Regions from separate parts of the Homo sapiens genome. Here all the other regions are linked to region 3. The links are contacts of gene promoters, found by promoter capture Hi-C in blood cells and fetal thymus (Javierre and others, 2016). All regions are on one chromosome and are shown on one strand. Each heading gives the region's core, a stretch centred on a gene start or on the middle of the fragment in contact. The rest is flanking DNA. Distances are from core to core; before and after follow the strand shown. Region 1 has its middle 17 kb from the start of CHD7. Region 2 overlaps PCMTD1 (protein-L-isoaspartate (D-aspartate) O-methyltransferase domain containing 1). Region 3 holds the start of PLAG1 (PLAG1 zinc finger). Region 4 has its middle 33 kb from the start of CHD7. Region 5 overlaps CHD7 (chromodomain helicase DNA binding protein 7). Region 6 holds the start of PCMTD1 (protein-L-isoaspartate (D-aspartate) O-methyltransferase domain containing 1). Region 7 overlaps RAB2A (RAB2A, member RAS oncogene family).

Region 1 (2,809 bases), core at 270-2,769, 4.5 Mb after region 3:
AACTGTGTTTCCAGCTAAAAATTCTATTAGTGTGAGAGAAGAGGAGCAGTGAATATTGGAGGACAAGAAGAGGGTTAGGCCATATGTATCTACATTTAAAAAGATACCTAAATATGACATCATAATCCAGATGAATCTAGATTTCAAAGGTATTCCTACCCAATCTTAATCTCCTTTGTTGGAAAGTCTGACATTTAGACTCAGTAGTTCTTACTCCAAGCAAGTCACTACATTTCCAGGGGTTTTTCTCTTATTAGGTAGTACAAGAATCCAGCGCTGTGACCTTCTTGGGATGAGGCATAGATGTAAGCTGAAAGGGAGTGGAGATAAAGGTATAAGTAGAGTGAAAGGCTCAGTAATTATATACAAATAAAGGATTTTACATGTTGACACTTTTGATCATGACCCCTGAGCCTCACTGGCTGGATTTGCTTTCTACTGTGTTTTTCCCTGGACTTTCTGGGGAGGGTGCTCTGCTCTCTACCAGGCACCTGCAGTTCCACCCCGGGCAGCTGGAGGGCTCTGTTCCACCACGGGCCACTGTGAACGCACATTTATTACCCGGTGTCAGTTGACGCCCTTCTCCAATCGCCCAAGAGAAGATGGCTTCAAAGGCCACAAACAATCTCCACGGCAGGACAGAGTGCTGGCTGCCGCTGCTTGGGAGCCAGGCCTGCACCCCATAGAGTCAGCTCTGGTTTAGAGCCAGCCCTTCCACCCTTGCCACCTTCAGCCGCTAGCCCAAATCTCAACGCTCTTCTCGCCCATTCCCAAACATCTCTGCGCTTCTCCCTTCCCCATCCGATCATTTCTGTTTCCATTATTTTTCTTTCTTCGCAGTTCCTTCCACGGTGTCTTTGGAAATGCTGATTCCTCTCTTGGCTTTGTGCTGTTTTTATTCGCCAAACCTATTCCGTTGTAAACCGACTTCTCTGAATCTCCAACCTCACCACAGGACCAGCCCTCCTTCCCTCTTCCTTGGCTGAGGGTGCACCGCTCCTGCCTCAGCATCTCCTTGGGCTCTGTAAGTTGCTTTCTTTCTTCCTGCAGACTTGCAAGAGCTCCCCTACTTTGAAAGGAGTCTTTGATGCTCTGTTCCTTTCTCTGCTTTCATCACCAAATAAGGAAATTCATAGTACCCTCTGCTCCCATGGCTTCCCACCACTCCTAGCTTAATTTTTTGTCATCTAGTTGTACTCGACACATCTCTATGAAATGAACACCATGATATCATCAGTGAACTTTGAATTATCTAATTCTCTATTTTACCTAATCTGGTAAAGGCATCAGACTCCTTGATTGTAACATGGCACCATTGCCATTGCCCATTCATCAAAATTTTATCTTGTGGCTGTCCCACTGGCTCACGCCTGTAATCCCAGCACTTTGGGAGGCTGAGGCAGGCAGATCACTTGAGCCCAGGAGTTCGAGACCAGCCTGGGCAACATGGGGAGACCCTATCACTACAAAAATACAAAAATTAGCCAGGTGTGGTGGCGCACGCCTGTAGTCCCAGTTACTCATGAGACTGAGGTGGGAGGATTGCTTGAACCCAGGAGGTTGAGGCTGCAGTGAGCCATCATTGCACCACTGCACTCCAGCCTGGGTGACAGAGCATGACCCTGTCTCAAAACATTTTTTTAAATTTTGCTTTCTGTCAAACTACATATTATGGTGTTTCCTTACCTTTTATGATATTGTATTCAGTAATAAAATAATAATATAGCAAACATTTAATGAGCACTTATTTTGTGACAGGCAGACTATAAGGTGCTGTATACACATGTTTCATTTAACCTTCAAAATAACTCTATGAGGTAGAGGAAATTATTATCCCTACTTTTACAGATAAGAAAACTGAGACTTGGTGGCTTACAGAAGTTAAGTGATGTGCGTAAGATGACAGATCTAGTAAGAGTGAGAGGTGGAATCAAACCCAGGCTTACTGAATTCCAAAGCACTGATTTTTTGCCAGCAGAGTGCATTGTTACTATTCTGGAAATCTGTAGTTCCTCTTTTCCTAATTACACTTTCAATATGAAACTTTCCCAGGACTCAGTTTGGGATACCTGCTCACCTGTCTATAGACATTCACTTTCACAGGGAAGTGTTGACTTTCGTGGGGTGAACTCTCTCCTTTACTTACTTTAAAAACCTGTCACTATGGAAAAAATTTAAACATACACAAAAATAGGAAGAACTGTATAACCACAACCCCCTCCCCAGGTACTATCACCCAAGTCCAACAATCATCAATTTCTGGCCACTCTTGTTTCCTCTGTACCCAACTGTCCCCATTTCCCACCCTCATTGGGTTTTTTATTTATTTACTTTTGAGACAGGGTCTTGCTCTGTTTCACAGGCTAGAGTGCAGTGGTGCGATCACAGCTTACCGCAGCCCTGACCTGGAGGTTGAGGGGCTCAAGTCATTCTCCTACCTCAGGCTCCCAAGTAGCTGGGACTACAGTTGCATGCCACCACACCTGATTAATTTTTGTATTTTTCGTAGAGACAGGGTTTTGCCATGTTGCCCAGACCGGTCTCAAACTGCTGGGCTCAAGGGATCCACCTGCCTTGGCCTCCTAAAGTGCTGGGATTACAGGCATGAGCAAACGCGCCTGGCCTATCCCACTGGATTATTTAAGGCAAATGCCAGAAATCATATCAGTTCATCTGTAAAGATTTCAGTGTATATCTCACACATATAAGGACTCATTAAAAAACCCCAACCACAATAACAAAAATATATCTAAAAATTAAAAAGAATTTCTTAATGTCAGTGAATATTCAGTGACATCAAATTTCCTCA
Region 2 (2,985 bases), core at 193-2,692, 4.3 Mb before region 3:
CCAAAGGAACAACTATGACACCTTTAACTGAGGACTTATATCACCCAATTGTCCAACCTGAATCCTTACTTTTTTCTCTGACCTGATTTTATGTCTACTTTGCTTGTTGTCTGCCACTACAGTCAATGTCACTAGTACTCTACCCCAAGGATCAGCAAACTTTTTCTGAAAAGGCCAGTTAATAAACATTTTAGGATTTGCAGGCAATAGTTTCTGTCCCAACTACTGAACACCACTGTTGTAAGGCAAAAGTAGCTATAGACAACTTAAAAGTTAAAGAGTATGGCTTTGTTCCAATACAATTTTATTTCTGGACACTAAAATTGGAATGTCATATCATTTTCATGTCATAAAATAGTCTTCCAACCATTTGAAAGTAAACACCATTCTTAGTTTGCAGACCACACAAAAAAAGACAGTAGTCCAAGTTTGGCCCATGGGCTACAACCGGCTAACACCTACTCTCATCTTCTTCCCAAATCAACCCCACGAACACTGCTTCACTTACTGAGTCTTCATTACTCTCAATCCTTCATTCTAACTTTCTGCTTCACTCATCTTGCAAACTTCTGATCATGGAACAAGCCAATAATCTCTCTTCTCCATGGACTGTTTTATATTGTGAAGTGTTACTTAAGAAAGAAATCCAGTGCCTGTGTTGGTGGTGCCACTAAACATTTATATTCTTCAAGCTTAACTGGATTTTCAATAATGCCCAGCAATATCTCTTGTGTTTATTTACCTCTGGCTCCCACCTGCACAGCAAATTCATTACCACTACTACAACCAACAACCCCTCAAGACTAGGCTCCACAAGGGTCCTTCTTCGTCCTCCACAGAAAAACAGGTCATAAGACAAAACGCCTCAATTTGCCAGACTGTCATCCTAATCCCATCCCATTAGACAAGAATATTACAAATATGATAGCATCTATATTTACATCTACAGACAGGCAGAGTGTAGTAAGTTCAACCTTCATTTGGAGCCCAACAGATCTGATTTTGTCCAACTTAATTAATAATTACTACACTTAGTAGTTGCCTGGCATTCAACCAACTGTTTTAGAATTGTCTTTTAATTATTCTTCAAAAAAACCTTCAAGGTAGGTTTTATTATACCCATTTTACAAAGAAAAAAATTTAGAGCTGGGCTTAAAACCTCGGTGTAAGTCAAAAGCCACAGAACTTTGCTCATATCTGGGCTCCATTTTTTTCGATTTCAAAAGTGCATTATCTAATCTGAGCCCTGAATACTATTTCAGGGGCACCTCCAGCCATCTCTCCTCCCACAGCCTTTGCTGAAGTTCCCTTAACCACAATAAACTTCTTCAAGCATCCATGTTTTTGCATATGCATTAAGTCTCTACCTAGAAAGTTCTCCCTGTTCACTCAGATGCCACTAATGAGTCCCCCTCCTCTTAGAAATCTCTAAGTCCAACCCCAAAACACTTATAAGCCTTAGTCTTTTCAGGCGTCATAACAAAGTACCATAGACTGGGTGCCTTAAACAACCCAAATTTATTTTCTCAAGCTAGAAGTCCAAGATCAAAGTGCCAACAGAATCACTTTCTGGTAAGGCCTCTAGGCCTCTCTTCCTGGCTTGCCGATGGTCACCATCTTGCTGTGTTCTCACATGACCTCTTCTTTGTACACACAAAAAAGCATGAGGGAGCTCTCTGGTGTCACTTTTTAAAATGACGCTATTGGATCAGGGCCTCACCATTATGATCTTAATTACTTCCTCGGAAGCCCCGTATTCAAGTACAGCTGCACTGGGCATGGGGTAGGGGGCGGTCAGGGTTTCAACACGTGACTTTTAGGGGGACATGAACATTCAATTCATAACTGTACCTTCTTTCAAAAGCTCTCAAACACCCGCCTATGTATCTCTGTATCATCTCTCCACAAAGTGATTATCCTGTTTCCCACCCACTTGACTGTGGCCTCTTCAAAGTAAGGGTCTATATGCTAGTCACTTGTTTACTTCTGACACTTAGTTGAATGCCTTATAACAAAGATATTATTCAAGATCCCTGCTAATGAGTAACTGAGTGTAGTTTCTCAGTTATTTAAGATCATGAAAAGAACAGAAGACATATATCTATGTACTTGACAAATTATACACTCCACTGGACATTAACATAGCCTGTTTGGGGTATTATATTTCATTGGAGAGAAAACGCAAGTCTTTAAAAGCTTACAATTTAGTTATGAATAGCATACTTAAAAAAAAAAAAAAAGAAATAAAAAACGGCCGGACGCAGTGGCTCACACCTATAATCCCAGCACTTTGGGAGGCCGAGGCAGGCGGATCACGAGGTCAGGAGATAGAGACCATGCTTGCTAACACGGTGAAACTCCGTCTTTACTAAAAATACAAAAAAAAAAAAAAAATTAGCCAGGCGTGGTGGTGGGCGCCTGTAGTCCCAGCTACTCAGGAAGCTGAGGCGGGAGAATGGCGTGAACCCAGGAGGCAGAGCTTGCAGTGAGCTGAGATCGCGCCACTGGACTCCAGCCTGGGCGACACAGCGAGATTCCGTCTCAAAAAAAAAGAACAGACAAAAAAAGTAAGGTAAATGCTTCAGAGTTCAAAATGAGAGCAAATCAACAAGGAATATAATAGCTAGATGGAATAAAACCTATGAAACCAAAAGTATTATCATCAGATTATAAAGTATTTAAACTTGTAATTTTCCATGGCCTGAATTAAATTAAGTAGCAAAGACTGTAGTACAGATGCCACAGTTCCCATTAAAGGTGAAAGAGTTGATACTTCAGTGTCCTAAGGCTAGCAAGTGGGGAGATTGTTATTAAGAGTAAAATGTATATATATGCATATATAGATAATAATAGAGGGACACACACAAAAACACAGGGAGAGCAAAGAAATTCAACAGATTTTCTTCTTAATTATTAATGCAATATTAAACCACAGTAAATCTCACAAAAGAGTAAACAGTTTTATAAATATTATTAAGTATAAGG
Region 3 (3,023 bases), core at 165-2,664:
GCAATCTAAAGCCGGAAAGGTTCATTCTTCCAATCACACATATTAACTCTATTAAGAAAATGGCATCACTTTTTTTTCCACCCAAAAAAACCCCGCAAAGATCATTAAAAGAGAGTTATAAAATAGCAAATATAGTGTTTATCTTATCTGAGATCAGTCCACATTACCAATAAGTTTAGCAGTTTCTGCACTACCACCTCCCCCCTCGCTCCCCCTGCTTCTCTTGCATCGGATTTTCACGTTTTCTCATTGTCGGTTGAGTTATAAAAGGCTTTTGCCCTTCGAAAGTTTTAAAAAATAAATAAATATTAACTCCTTGGTCCCTGCAAAGTCAAAATGGACTTCAGGGGAAAGGCGGTACATACTTTTACCTTTAGCGAGAAAAGGGGGAGCATCCCGGATTTTTAGGGATTTTTTGCGATTTTTTAAAAATTTTTATTTGGTTATATGCCTGAGTTCTCCCTCCATTTTGGTTGTTTATGATACTGACAACAAGCTGTCCCTGCTCTGTGCCGATCTCCTGCTTTCATTTAGCACCCCCTCCCCCTACCCCCCCTCGCAGCCACACACCCCGGGCTCACACCTCCCTGCAGACCCCGCACCCCGACCCCGGCTTGCCCACCTGAGGAAAGGGCAAAAACAAATTCATTTCTCCAGAAAAGAAAAACCTCTTTTGAAAAAGGGGCAAAGTTACCCCAAGTCACTCAAAGTGCCCCCCAAATATTGCCGACTGCGGGTTTCCGCCAGGCCCTTTGGGAAGCGACCTTCCCCCGGGATGTTTTGGTGGAAAATGCGGAGAGTTTACTCTCAAAACTGAATTTATATTAATTTTTCCCTTATTTTTCGGGTCTCTAATGTCTTCCGCTCTCGCTGCTGCCGCTGCCGCTGTCACAATATTCACAGCACCAGAGAGGAGGAGGAGGAGGAGGAGGAGGAAAACTTTTCAAACTTTCCAGACCCTGAATAAAGGTTTTTTTTTTTTTCCCACCGACCTCACCTTCGGGTCCCCAGCCGCATCGCCCCCTGCCCTGTCAGAAGCGACTTCGGGAGTCCTCGCAGCCCCGCGTAATTATTTTATTTTATTTTTTATTATTATTTTTCTCTCTGGGGTCCTGAGCAGGGGCTGAGAGTAGCACAAACTTTTCCTCCTCCTGCCGCCGCCGCTGCTCCTCTGCCCCCTCGGCTAGTCCCATAATTTAAATAACCCTGATATTTCTCCCGCTAAACGCCTCGCCGCCGCCCCGGACCCCCGGAGAACTCACCGCGGGGCTTTAACATCCTCCCTCCGGCCCGTCCGCCGCCTCTACACCGCCCGCGGAATTTCTAATAATTTTTTTCTCATATTTCGGGCTGGACGCGGCGGGCCTGGAAATTGTTTCCTTACGCCTCTTTCCAGCAGCCATTGTAGTGTATGCGCTGCCCCTGCAGCCCAACTTGCAGCTGCCGCCGCCGCCGCCGCCGCCGCCGCCGACGTCGCGCCCACCGCTGCCTCCCCCTGCCTGTTCGGCCACCGCCCCCGCCTCCCGTCGGCCCGCCCCCAAACCCCGCCCGCCGCTGCGCCCGCCCCCCGCGCGCGCTCCGCCCGAGAGCTGGCCACTCGGAGCCGCCGCTGGCGGGAGTTGGCCCGCCCATTGGGCCGCGACGCCGCCCGTCAAGCCGAAGTGTTAAGAGACGGGCCGCGGCTGGGGGGCGCGGTGGGGCGGGGGAAGAGGGGGCGGGGTCGCGCTCACCGCCCCGCCCACTCCTCCCGCCTCGGCCCTCCTTTCGCCAGGCGGGGGCGGGGCGAGGCCCGACCGCCCCTGCGGCCCAGGGCCCCGCGCGGCTGTCAGTCTGGCGGCGGCGCGCGCCGATTGGGCGGGCTGCCGCCGGGGAGCGGGGGCAGCAAGTTGGGATGCGCGCTACTTAAGGTCCTGCTGCGTGAGCCATTGACGTGTTTGGAGCTGGAGACGGCCTGGGTGCTGGCGAAGCGGAGGCCGGAGGTGAGTGGTTCCCCCGCCCTACCTCCGAAGCGGCCGCAGAAAAGCGGGGAGAGAGGGGTGCCCTTGGGCCGTAGCGGGGCCCGAATGCACTTCTGCGGCGCGGAGGCGCTCCCGCCAGGCTTCGCCGCAGCGCGGACCTCTTCCCGTTGCTCTTCCTCCCGCCACACGGGTCTGTTCGCTCCGGGGGCGAGGAAGATGACCTCTGCCTAGTCCGGGCAACCCCAGCTCTTCTTCCACTCTCCTGTGTAGCCTCTGAAGCGCAGTTACCGGCCCCACCCCCAGTTCCCTGCGTTTTCCTCGCCCCTTGTCTCTCTCGGCATGGTCTCGGCACAGCAAGGTGTGTTCACCTGTGCGCGCCGTCCAGGATCAGATGCTGACGGGCTACACCGCGGAAGGCGGCGAGGCCTCGGGTTCGCCCTTCGTTTCTCCTTGCCCTGCGCGCCCACCTCCGGCAGGCCACCCTTGACTTCTTGCCCCCTTCCACTTTGCACCTGGCAGTGGGTTAACGGCACGGCGTGTGCAGCTTCCGGGTTTAGCAGAGCCGCGGACCCTGCCTGGGCTCCGACCACGGGGCGTGTGGGCATGAACGTGTTCAGAAACGTTTCCTTCCCCCTGCCCTTTCAAAGCTACTTAGAGAGGGGGGACGTGAACCACTGGATGGGAAATCAGGAACTGCTTTATTAAGCAGTTTGCCCTTTGGAGTGGATTTTAGAGTTATCCCCTGAATGTGCTATGGTTTTGTGGCCCCTCCTTCATATCTTTGCTTGGTTTTTCTTTCTGGTTATGCTCTGCAAGTAGTAGAGCCTTGTAACATTTATTTAGTACATTCAAAAAGTAATAGACAAGGCCCCTTTAGCGGAGCACTCGATGTTGTAATTCAGCCCCGCTCCTCACTGTAAATTGACATTTCCTCTTCAATTCCAGTTAATACACGAGGAACTCATGCAAAGGAGGGGACTTTCGGAAATCCAAACTTAGAGTGCCTTGTATTTAGAATCCGGAAGGAAAAGGAAATGAAATGTGAAGAAACTCATGCACCAAACT
Region 4 (2,880 bases), core at 204-2,703, 4.4 Mb after region 3:
CCTGATGCCATGGGGTGGGTTGCAAGTGAGGCTGTCTCCCTGCATCAGAGTCACTTGGGGCTTGTTACAAACACAGCCTTCAGGACGCAGAGTCCGAAGGGAGTCGCCTAAAGTCTGGTTATAAAGTCGCTCCAAGAGACATTCCCAAGCTTCTGTGTCCCTCTCTGTTCTGTGCCCTCTTCCCCTGTAGCTGCAAGCCAAAGAATGCCAATTGCAGGAAACCTGGAAGCTAGGCTGGGCCAGGAAGGTTTCTACCCAGCAGCTCAGAAGGAGCATAGCCCTGCCTGTAGCTGGATTTCCCACTCTTGTCTAGAACTGTGAGAGAATACAGTTCCGTTGCTTCACGCCACCCAGTCCCTGGTACTTTCACAGCAGCCTTAAGAAACAAACACATTTTAAATGTAATGCTTACACACTGAATGACAATCCTCCACCACTGTTTGTTTTTTTGGTTTTACCTTGGTGATGATATAATTTGAATTTGAACCACAGGATGTTTTTGGGTTTTTTTTTTTTTGGTTTGTTTGTTTTTGTTGTTTTGAGATGGAGTCTCACTCTGTCACCTAGTCTGGAGTGCCGTGGCTCGATCTCGGCTCACAGTAACCTCCGCCTCCTGAGTTCAAGTGATTCTCGTGCCTCAGCCTCCCGAGTAGCTGGGATTACAGGCACGTGATTACAGGCACGTGCCACCATGCCCGGCTTTTTTTTTTTTTTTTTGAGACGGAGTCTCGCTCTGTCGTCCAGGCTGGAGTGCAGTGGCATGATCTCGGCTCACTGCAAGCTCCGCCTCCTGGGTTCACGCCATTCTCCTGCCTCAGCCTCCTGAGTAGCTGGGACCACAGGTGCCCGCCACTACGGCCGGCTAATTTTTTGTATTTTTAGTAGAGACGGGGTTTCACTGTGTTAGCCGGGATGGTCTTGATCTCCTGACCTCGTGATCTGCCCGCCTCAGCCTCCCAAAGTGCTGGGATTACAGGCATGAGCCACCGCGCCCGGCCTTTTTTTTTTTTTTTTTTTTTTTTTGTACTTTTAGTAGAGATGAAGTTTCGCCATGTCTTTCGGGCTAGTCTCGAGCTTCTGGCCTCAAACCATCTGCCCGTCTCAGCCTTTCAAAGTGCTGGGATTACAGGCATGAGCCACTGCACCTGGCCAGAACCGCAGTATTGATGGAGCTCCGTGAGGTGCATACTCCTTCTCATTCTACTGAATCCTTCCACTTTCTGGAAACCTGCAAAATGGCGTACAGAATACACAACGGGGTTCCCACTGTGAGAGCTATGGGGGGTTCTGGTTGGCCTCAGTTTGGGGTGTGCTCTCAGCCCGGCTTCTCCTGTGGTGGGGTGCATGTGAGTCCCCTGAAGATGTCTTTAGACTCTGGGTCAGACGATCCAGGTACAGCCATGAGGATGCTGCTGGCGTTCAAACCACACTTGTGACAAGGCTTTCTGTTCACAACCCATCCAGGTCCAGGGAAAACTGGGCTCATTTAGAAGAGTGCAAGGGACAGATTTAGGGAAAGGACGAAAGTTTCCCAAACATGGTGTGAATCCTGCTGGCTCTGGGATACATGCTGTAACAGCAACACAGAGGACCACATTTCACCAGAATTATTGCTTTTATTGCCAAGGTCTTAGGTCTTTTGGACTCCAAGTTACTGATGAAAAAACAGTTAAAATGCCTTGCATGAAATCAAAGAGATTTTGTTATCAGCTCCCCAGTTACCTGCTTGGCAGTTGCCTCTTATCTCTCTCTGGGATTTTAAAGCTCTTCCTAAGTCCAGATGCCCTGAACACTTAAAGATGCTCTAATAATAATAATAATGTTAAATTAATTAATAATTGTAAAGGAAGTCCAATTATTTTCATTCAAACATCTAATTATTAAAGCAAAGAAATTTATTGTTGGGACACATTAATCACTGTATTAGGGGTGATGGTGGGGTGGGATGAAATATAAGTAGGTGTTGCTTTTTTATGTTAATATTTGACAATGTGAGGAATGATTTCAGCAGATTAAGAGCAGCATTAATGATACATCAGAAGCATCAGCTCTCATTCGTCCTAGGCTACAGCATTACAAGCAACCATAACCATCCACTTAACATCACTAGAGAGAAGCGCTAGACATTGAGATGGCCACACTGTACCAGGAGTGCCTTCAACATGGTCCTGTGACTGCCTCTGGGCTGACAACTCCTCCCGCTGCACGAGTCATCGATAGCATTTCTTCACTGGGCTTTATTACTGTGAAGAAAACCTTTTTATTTCTTTCATGTGATTTGACACTAGGAATTATTAAAAAGAACTTAAAACCAAAGCCATGACAAAAAATAAAAAACACCAATATGCTGTGAATGTATCATTTTTATTCCTGGGACTGGTTTTATTATTTTTGGAACTATTACAAGACTTCTGTTAAACATGTTGAATGTTAAGAGGAAACAGACTCTCAGCAAATGTTGAAAACCAATTACAGAAACGTCCCTGCTAGAACTAGAGAAACACAGGAGGGACCGAGAAGAAGTTTGCCCTCCCCCTTCTCCCACTGCCCAAAACACACAGATGGTGGAATTCCCGTGAAGAAAAATACGATGATTACATTGTGGTCCTTATTCTTCTGTTCACAAGCAAAAAAACACTAAAATGATACTTCTGAGTCAAACCTATTTATAATGAGTTCAACATAGGATTATTTAAGGCAAATCTGATACAGGAAAAACTCATATAACTTACAGAATGATTCTTTACTATACACAAAAAAAGCTTCACCACTAATCAAGAAATCAAATTACATTACATTTAAAAACACCTAAATTTCAAATATTAATTTATGGAACTTTCAGGAGCACATCGCTGTAAACAGTACTGTAAAAGCATGCTA
Region 5 (2,939 bases), core at 358-2,857, 4.5 Mb after region 3:
ATGGGTGATAGAACTTTTTGTTATAGATCAAATTTTGTTCTTGTGTGCATAAAGATAACCTTCCTGGGACTCAGTGTCTTTAATTAGGGGTCTGTTTCAAAGATACTTTTATTGTCATTGTGTGTTCCTCATGGGCCTTTCTGGTGGCCATTGTGACTCAGTCAAGTCTTCTGGGTTCCTTCCTGTCTTGTGTTGTTTGTAGGGACATGCTTCATGTGAAAGTTTACCTTCACCTGCAATAGTTTTGAGTGATTATTTGAATAAGCTTAAATTCAGGAGAAGTAATGTTTCCACGTGTGGAATGGCAGGAAAACTTGGTGCACTAACTTCAGCTTCAGATGGGCTTGTGCCAACTACTCTGTGGCAATTTATATCTAATACTATTTCTTCAACTTGCCAGTTTTTCTTAAAAAAAAAAAAAAAAAACTCTTTAAAATACATTCTGTCATTAGGTCCAGCCAGCAGTGTATTCTTAGGGTGTAAGAGATCATTTCTAAGAGGTGTAGACATCGAATGGAAAGGCGCATGCAGGCCCCTGTGGATGTGGCTTTAATGGAAGAATAGAGGGGATGCTTCTTTGGGGCCTGCCTTCTCTCCTGGCATCTGCAGTGGCTGAGGAGGCAGCAGAGGTCATGTGGTGGATTTGAGTTTTCCACCATGTATTTCATCAGGATGAGGTTGGGCAAATAGCCATCTGCTGCTGAGCAGGGACCGCGTGCGACCTGGGTTTCCACACCCACCCTTTGTGTAGGGAAAGGTGTGCAATTAGACACATGTGTTAGGTTGGACACATCACCTCCTTTCCCTAGTATCCTCAGTGTAAAACAGTCAGATTTCTATACCATATTTGCAGTATGTCTAAAAAAGGGTACATGGCACCTTACTAGTTAATTTTCTTTCTAGTTCTGCAGCAAGTTTGGGGAACTACTTTAACTTTTTAGAGGCCACTGTGTCCTCTTTTCATCATTTTGAAAGAAACCACAAACATTTTATTTGTTATCCATTTTTGTTTTGTTTCGTTTTCGAGATGGGGTCTCACAATACTGTCCAGGCTGGATTCTAATTCCTGAGCTCAAAGGCTTTTCCTGCCTCAGCCTCCCAAGTAGCTGGGATTACTGGCATGCACCACTGTGCCCTGTTATATCAACATTTTAGAAATCTGTCTGTTGATATTTAAAACATAATTAGCAAATGTGCATATTATTTCAACACACCTAAAAACTATTAAACATCTTTAACATAATACTAAGCAGTCATAGTGAGAAGTCCCTCGAAGAATTATAAGCATGCCTTTAGTTTCCAAGGCAGTGCTTGCTAGCATACTAAGTGAATAATAAAATCAGTTTGAGCACAGGAATATGATAAAAAAAAAATACCCCAGTTGGTGAAGTATTTTGAAGTGTATGAGCCTAGCAATTATTTATGGTTAGAACTGGCACTATATTGAAATTGTTGAGCCCATATCCTTAAATAATTTTTTAAAAGTCTCTGTTAAAGTGTTTTATGTTCTTGTATACTTGGCCTTGTTTGTGCTTGAAATTTTGCTTTCATTAATCTCAAGTGTACCGATCTTGCAAGAAAAATCATACATATTCATCTTGAGAATTTCAAAATCTTGATTAACAGTGTACCCCACCCTGAAGTATATGTTGGGCCAATCAAGTAAAATAGTGCAGAAATAATAAAACAATATTAAAAATAACAGTAATAACCATAATGACCGGCTGTTATTTCCAGTTGGGTAGTTACTCAGCTGAGTGTTGTCATGGATCATTTCATTTCCTCATCAGAGCAACTCTAGGTAATAGGTAGAACTATTATCCCCATTTTACAGATGAGGAGACTAAAAGGGATGAGAAGTTAAATTACCCAGGGCCATACATTTCTAGCACGTGGTGGAGGAGGAATTTGAATCCAGATGAGCTAGACTCCACAATCTGTGTACATAAGCATGGTGCTGCTGTTGCCACGTAGACCAGCTCTGGAGCTTGCATTGTTGCCGTCTTAATAGACAAAGGTGTGTTAAAAATACCCATGCCATGCTGTGATGCTACCTATTGCTGTGTCTTACCAGCCCAGGCTATTTTTTTCTGTACTTCCTCTGTTGGTGCCTGCTGTAGTTGTGGGGCCATATGTCATGGGATGTCTTCGTACCTAAAACGACCAGGTCCTTGCCTTTCACACTTAAGGCCCTTCTGCTCACATGGAGATGAGGAGAAGAGTTGTTCTTGTGGAGGTTGCCTTCTGAGGCGGCTGAGAATTTGAGTTTTGATGTCGGACAGATACGGGTGTGAATCATAAAAATGGACATAATACATTCTCCTAACTGCCCAGGGTTATGGTGAAGGTTAAGTGAGGCACTCCAGCTAACATACTTGGTATAGCATATGGCATATTCATTGAGTGGTTACTATTTTTATTAGTTCAGTTTAATCATGGAACTTATCAAATCATATGTATTGCTTTTACTTTTGTTTTAAAAAGTCCCTCAAACCATAATCCTACAGATGACTGGACAAGAATGAGTGGCCTAAAATGGTGACTGGCTACACAATTTTCATTTTTCTTCAGGAGAAGACATTTGAAAATAACATCTTTATGTCCTTTGTCCATCAGTGCAACCAGATGTTATTTGCCTAATTCTCTTGTTGATTATATAGAGTTGATTCAGATATCCCAGGTACTAAAAGTGACAGGTTTGAGGGAGTGCTTATCTCTTGTCCTGAAGATGTTCATCTCCTACCAGAGTTATGGCTGTCCTTCTAGTGAAACAGTCATTTCTTCTTTGTCCCAAATCTGCAATTCTCCAAACATGGTGGGTGATGTTATCCTAGATGATCAGTGGTGTAGGCATGTTTGATCAGCTCTGGGATATTACGGTTTTCTGATTTAGACCAGAGGTCACAGGGTGTTCTCAAAATCTATAGGAGCTCCAGATC
Region 6 (2,780 bases), core at 254-2,753, 4.3 Mb before region 3:
CAAAAAGTAAACTAATTCAGCAACTTTATGTTTTATGGAGTCATCTAGCCTCATGTAAACTACCATTAAGCAATACGTAAACATATTAATCTGCTTAATACGAAAGTAATGTCGTCTGGCCGCAGACATTCTGAAAGTTTTGCCACATTGTTTCAAAATATTGGCTTGTAGCCCTTTTCAAAGCTACTGATTATTGAAAACTTGGCGACCATGTTTAACAATGAAGAAAAGGCTTCCCCAAGCCTACGTAGATTGGATTCTCTAATACATAGTAATAATGTTTTTTAAAATAATGAGGTGTGTAATAAAATGGAGGAATATCCATGATGCATTGTTGGCTAATAAAACGATATACTGTACTATATATGATCCCAATCTTGTTTCTAAAGCACACTCATTAAATGCACAGAAAAAAAAAATCCTGAATAACTACCCACCACACTTGGAGACTGGCTACCCTGGGTAGTAAGAAGGAGAAATATGGGGGGAAGGGCGCGAGAGAGGGCAGGTTTCCTCATTGTTTGGCTGCTTCATGTTTTTCTCAAGGAGCAAGCAGTACTTTTGTAATTAAAAAAATAAATAGGGGAAAAACACTGCTAAAAGCATACTTTTTTCCTCCGTAGCAAATTCTTCTGATTTGTAATGTTAAAAATATATCTCTGGTTTCTCGATTCTAAAAAGAGGACACACGAAAACAAAATTATAGAAGTTCCAAAAAATCTTGGATTTGCAAAATTACTCCCTCGGGTTCTGCCCGTGGGTCCTCCCCATGCCGGTGTCTGAAATTCCCCAAGCAAAACGCGGGCACTGCACTTCCCCGGAACGGTAGTAGACGCTCAAAAACACAAAAAGAGGCCTTGGCGCCTGCTATAACCTCTCAGTCCCCTCCCAGCCCCCGAGACTTCCCCGAGTCTACGTAGACTGGATTCTCTGCCTCCAAAACCAAAACAGAAGTCACTGGGCGGATCCAAAACGGCCCTAAGGGGCCCGCGGGCATCTCAAGACGCCAGCCTCGGGACTCTGGTCCCCAAGCCCAGGTCAGAGCCGAGGACGAGCCGAGGACGGGCCGAGGACGCGGCGCCCCGGCCTCCCTCGGGCCCCCGACCTCCCCGGCCCCAGGGACCCCGGCTCCCGACCTCCAGGCTTCGCTGGGCCCCTTTCGACTCCCCGACCTCCCAAGTCCTCCGCCCCCGGCCCGTCCTTCCCCCAACCTGCCCCGCAGCGCCTCAGTTTCCTGGCCCCCGACCTGCCCGCCCTTAAGTCCCCCTGCCCCCGACTCTTCGGCTGCCGTCCCCCTGGCCCTCTGGCCTCCAAGCGCATCCCAGTCGCCCGCCCGGCCCTAGCACGCGGGACTCGCACACCCCACGACCCCGAGCCCCCACTGGCGGCGGCGTTACCTGTGGCGCGGGCAGCGGCGCGCAGGCCAGGCGCTAGGACTCGGCGGGGTCCGCAGCAGCCAGACGCCGCTACCACCACAATAACAACACGGACGCCACCGCCGAGTGGAGAGGCGGGGCCCGGACCCGCGACTGGAGCAGCCAGAGCCTCCCGGACTCCGGAGCCGCCGGGGTCCGGGCATGCGCAGAGAACCACGGGCACAGGGGCAGCTCCCCGCGGACGCCAAAGTCAACAAGGCCGGGAGACGCCCCCATCTGGCCCCGCCCCCCTCAGGGCTCGCTCCGCCCCCAAGCCCAAACAACGCGAGGCCTTGACAGGCCAGAAGACGATGGCGGTAGGGGAGATCACGCGAGAGCATGGCCTCCACCTCTCCTCCCCACCGCCATCTCCACGTTCTCGCACCGGCGCTGGGGTGCAGGCTTTCAGTGGTCTCAGGGCTACGGCTTGTCGGTGCCTCGCCGCACAGTCCCCTTTGCATTGAAGGACACGGTCTTACGGTGTAGGAGCATTTTTGAGGTGCATTCCTGGATTTGGAGGCGAACCCCCAATGGTTACCTCCACAGAGGCTTTGCGAAGGGCGCTCACTGACTTAGGTGAAGAGCGAAGGCTCAAGACTGTGCCGCTTTATAGTGGCCCCTTGACGTCCAGAAGTTCCCCCCAGCGCCGGTCATAAGCACTCCCGCCGCCTGGGCCCCGCCCTGCCTGCCAGGCGCCCTCCAGCCTCAGCTCCCGGACGCCCGGCGTGGCCGCTTTCTCGCGTCTTGCTGACCCGGGCCGGGGGCGTGTGCTCCTCCTGCAGCGGACGGAAGATGCTGGGCCACGCAAGTTTCCCTGGGCTTGGTTAACCACCCCAAAGCCCATTTCCAGAAGGAAAGGGTGTTGAGGAGGAGGGATAGAAAGTCGAGAAGAGGGCCGGGTGAGTGGCTCACGCCTGTCATCCCAGCACTTTGGGAGGCCGAGACAGGCGGATCACCTGAGGTCAGGACTTAGAGACCAGCCTGGCCTACATGGTGAAACCCCGTCTCTACTAAAAATACAAAAATTAGCCGGGTGTGGTGCCGTGCGCCTGTAGTCCCAGCAACTCGGGAGGCTGAGGTAGGAGAATCGCTTGAACCCGGGAGTCGGAGGTTGCAGTGCTGAGATGGCACCTGGCCTGGGCGGCAAGAGCGAAACTCCATCTCAAAAAAAAAAAGAAGAGGAAATGAGGCATAGGGGCAGGCGAGCCGGGAAAATATTGCTACTAAGGATCCTAAGCAGTGAACATGCTGTTAATACTTGTAAGACTCCTAGCAAACTGCATTTAATTTTTTAAATTAGTTTTAGTGTACATAAAGGCATGTCTTTTCCAAATACTGTACTTTTTGAAGTGTTCTTTGTTGTTC
Region 7 (3,014 bases), core at 175-2,674, 4.3 Mb after region 3:
ACTTTTTATAGTTCCTACACCATATCAAAAGCTTATTATCTGTTAATTCTTCAACAGATACATGAGATTACTGTTTTACAGATGGAGAAACTGAGTTGTGTCATTTGGGGCAAATTATCTTAGTAGATGGTTGATCTGGTTTGGCTCTGTGTCCCACTCGAATCTCATCTCAAATTTTAATTTCTGTAGTCCCCACGTGTTGAGGGAGGGATCCCATGGAAGGTGATTGGATCATGGGGTCAGTTTCCCCCATGCTGATCTGGTGATAGTGAGTGCTCATGAGATCTGATGGTTTTATAAGTGTTTGACAGTTCCTCATTCATACTCTGTTTTTCTCCTGCCGCCACGTAATATGTGCCTGCTTCCCCTTCTGCCATGATTATAAGTTTTCTGAGGCCTCCCCAGCCATGCAGAACTGTGAGTCAATTAAGCCTCTTTATAAATTACCCAGTCTCGGGTAGTATCTTTATAGCAGTGTGAAAACGAACGAATACAGTGGTAGAACAAAGATCTAGGGGTGTCTGACTCCACGGGCCATTCTCTTGATTACAGGGTGGTCTGGCTCCATTCCCCTTTGCTCTTTCTTTCCCCATATCTTCTGAGTTTTTACTTTTCATAGCCATAATGTAGCTTTAGGTTTCTCCCAGTTCTCACTTTAAAATATTCTCATTTTCAGGTATAGCTGAGAGTCACTGTGTTTTTAGCCAAATCTAAGGGAGAAAATGAATATTGATAGCAGCATGCTGTAGCCAGCTCCTTAAAGGAAGGATGGTGCCTGGTACAGAGTTAGAGTTAGTGCTTCAGTAAATAATGAATGTGTGCTAGGTAGGTTCTGCTGGGTAGGCTGCATGCATTGACCAATTTATTCCTCCTTGTTTCAAAACAGGATTTAAGGGCACTTATATATATATATTTTTTAGTTTTTTTAATGTAAATGAGAGAATAAAGATATATATATATGTCTATATATGTATATATGTATATATATGTCTATATGTCTATATGTATATATGTCTATATGTATATATGTGTGTGTGTACATATATATATATATATATATATATATATATATATATAAGTTTTCTGTTGCTAGCATAACAAACTACCAGAAACTTAGCAACTGAAACAACATGAATTTATCTTACGGTTCTATAGTTCAGAAGTCTAACGTGTCACTGGGATGAAATCCAGGTTTCAACAGGACTGGGTTCCCTTCTAGCTCATTCAGCTACCTGGCTCATTCAGGTTGTTGGCAGAATATACTTCCATGAAACTGTAGGGCTGAGACCCCGTTTCCTTCCTGGCTATCATCTGAGAGCTTTTCCCGACTTCTAGAGTCCACCCACCTACCCACATCCCTTGGCCCATGGCCCCCTTCCTCCATCTTCACAACCAACAACAGTGGGTCACGTCCTTCTTGTGTCTCATCTTTCTTGTTGGGCCATCCCAAGTCTCTCTGTTTTAGGAAAGGTTTTCCACTTTTAAGGACTCATGTGATTAGATTGGGCTTACCTGGATAATACATGCTAATCTCCCCATCTCAAGGTCTAATCTTAATCAAATCTACAAAATCCCCTTTGCCATGCTAGGGTAAAATATTCACAGGTTCTGGGGATTAGGATGTTAATATCTTTTGGAGGGCATTTTTCCGCTTACCATAAAGGCCTGCATTAGTCCATTCTCACACTGCTATAAAGAACTACCTGAGGCCAGGCATGATGGTTCACGCCTGTAATCCTAGCACTTTGGAGGCTGAGGCGGGTGGATTGCTTGCGCTGAGGAGTTCGAGACCAGCCTGGGCAACACGGTGAAACCCCATCTCTACTAAAATACAAAAAATTAGCCAGGCGTGGCGGCATGCGCCTGTAATCCCAGCTACTTGGGAGGCTGAGATGAGAGCATCATTTGAACCCGGGAGGGAGAGGTTGCAGTGAGCTGAGATGGCACCATTGCACTCCAGCCTGGGCGACAGTGCGAGACTCCATCTCAAAAAAAAAAAAAAAAAAAGAAGTACTTGGGACTGGGGAATTTATGAAGAAAAAGAGGTTTAATTAACTCACAATTCCACAGGCTGTAAAGGAAGCATGGCTGGGAGGCCTTAGGAAACTTATAATCATGGCAGAAGGTGAAGGGGAAGCAAGCACATCTAGCCATGTCAGACCAGGAAAGAGAGAGTGAAGGGGGAAGTGCTACACACTTTTAAGCAACCAGATCTCGTGAGAACTCACTGTCACTGAGAACAGCAAGGGGAGGAATCCACCTCTGTGACCCAATCAGCTCCCACCAGGCCCCTCCCCCAACATTGGAAATTACAATTTGATGTGAGATTTGGGTGGAGACACAGAGCCAGACAATTTCAAGGGCTAAGGAGCAAATGGTAGAAACAGTAAAATAAGATCAGAAGAGGTTTAATTGACTCACAGTTCTGGAGAGCTGGAGAGGCCTCAGGAAAATTACAATCATGGCAGAAGGCAAAGGGGAAGCAGGCACCTTCTTCACAAGGCGGCAGGAGAGGGACAATGGAGGAAGGGCCATGCCTTATTAAACAACCAGATTGGCCACTCCCCTAGCATGTGGGGATTACAATTCCAGATGAGATTTTCATGGGGACACAGAGCCAAACCATATCAGGACATTTATACTCAAAGTCTATGATATGAGGTGGTGTAGACTTCTTTGAAGTGGTCACTGAATTTAGCACTAACCAGTGCAAAAAGACAACCCTGCTCATTTACCCTAATCATAGTATCCATTATTTTTTTTTTGAAGTATGTTCATGTATATACTTAGTAACTGCTGACATTGAGAATCTTGAAAGAAGCTTTGCTTCTGATTCCTCTTAAAAATAATACAGTATAGCGAGTGTAAATATACAACTGCTTTTATAGGGCATTTTCTCTAGAGGCATAACTCATTGAATCTATGAGGAAGACACCATTTTATAGGTGAGGAAAGGGACACTGGTTATCACATACAGTCTTTTTGTATACAGCTAGTAACTGACCAATATGGAA

What was found. The method cuts DNA at HindIII sites, captures the fragments that hold promoters and counts their contacts. A CHiCAGO score of 5 or more calls a contact.
Region 1: a fragment that was not itself captured here is called in contact with the fragment with the promoter of PLAG1 in region 3 in 1 of 17 cell types (neutrophils); the score reaches 6.8 in neutrophils.
Region 2: a contact is called between a fragment that was not itself captured here and the fragment with the promoter of PLAG1 in region 3, in 1 of 17 cell types (total CD4 T cells). The highest score is 7.1, in total CD4 T cells.
Region 4: a fragment that was not itself captured here is called in contact with the fragment with the promoter of PLAG1 in region 3 in 2 of 17 cell types (neutrophils and total CD4 T cells); the score reaches 8.0 in neutrophils.
Region 5: a contact is called between a fragment that was not itself captured here and the fragment with the promoter of PLAG1 in region 3, in 1 of 17 cell types (neutrophils). The highest score is 8.0, in neutrophils.
Region 6: the fragment with the promoter of PCMTD1 here is called in contact with the fragment with the promoter of PLAG1 in region 3 in 4 of 17 cell types (activated CD4 T cells, total CD4 T cells, naive CD8 T cells and 1 more); the score reaches 16.5 in activated CD4 T cells.
Region 7: a contact is called between a fragment that was not itself captured here and the fragment with the promoter of PLAG1 in region 3, in 2 of 17 cell types (neutrophils and total CD4 T cells). The highest score is 8.7, in neutrophils.

Annotation. Positions count from the first base shown.
Region 1 is chr8:60,660,161-60,662,969 of GRCh38, forward strand. No RefSeq gene overlaps it. Among named protein-coding and RNA genes, the nearest start is that of CHD7, 17 kb to the right of the region's middle. The HindIII fragment of the contact is 4,989 bases long and covers 1-2,809 here.
Region 2 is chr8:51,880,594-51,883,578 of GRCh38, forward strand. All of the region lies in intron 1 of PCMTD1 (protein-L-isoaspartate (D-aspartate) O-methyltransferase domain containing 1), which reads right to left. Among named protein-coding and RNA genes, the nearest start is that of PCMTD1, 17 kb to the right of the region's middle. The HindIII fragment of the contact is 1,504 bases long and covers 691-2,194 here.
Region 3 is chr8:56,209,859-56,212,881 of GRCh38, forward strand. PLAG1 (PLAG1 zinc finger) reads right to left here and starts at 1,415. Exons shown (of 5, transcript NM_002655.3): 1 at 1,263-1,415. It overlaps CHCHD7 (coiled-coil-helix-coiled-coil-helix domain containing 7), which reads left to right and starts at 1,931. Exons shown (of 4, transcript NM_001011671.3): 1 at 1,931-1,979. RefSeq lists silencers at 1,400-1,959, 1,802-2,027 and an enhancer at 2,040-2,109. The HindIII fragment of the contact is 9,849 bases long and covers 1-3,023 here.
Region 4 is chr8:60,644,051-60,646,930 of GRCh38, forward strand. No RefSeq gene overlaps it. Among named protein-coding and RNA genes, the nearest start is that of CHD7, 33 kb to the right of the region's middle. The HindIII fragment of the contact is 2,613 bases long and covers 148-2,760 here.
Region 5 is chr8:60,685,941-60,688,879 of GRCh38, forward strand. All of the region lies in intron 1 of CHD7 (chromodomain helicase DNA binding protein 7), which reads left to right. Among named protein-coding and RNA genes, the nearest start is that of CHD7, 8.7 kb to the left of the region's middle. The HindIII fragment of the contact is 2,689 bases long and covers 264-2,939 here.
Region 6 is chr8:51,897,533-51,900,312 of GRCh38, forward strand. PCMTD1 (protein-L-isoaspartate (D-aspartate) O-methyltransferase domain containing 1) reads right to left here and starts at 1,504. Exons shown (of 6, transcript NM_052937.4): 1 at 1,398-1,504. PCMTD1-DT (PCMTD1 divergent transcript) reads left to right here and starts at 1,783. Exons shown (of 4, transcript NR_189279.1): 1 at 1,783-2,314. RefSeq lists a silencer at 1,011-1,700 and enhancers at 1,741-2,030, 2,201-2,260, 2,561-2,620. The HindIII fragment of the contact is 4,691 bases long and covers 1-2,780 here.
Region 7 is chr8:60,524,981-60,527,994 of GRCh38, forward strand. All of the region lies in intron 1 of RAB2A (RAB2A, member RAS oncogene family), which reads left to right. Among named protein-coding and RNA genes, the nearest start is that of RAB2A, 9.5 kb to the left of the region's middle. The HindIII fragment of the contact is 2,790 bases long and covers 30-2,819 here.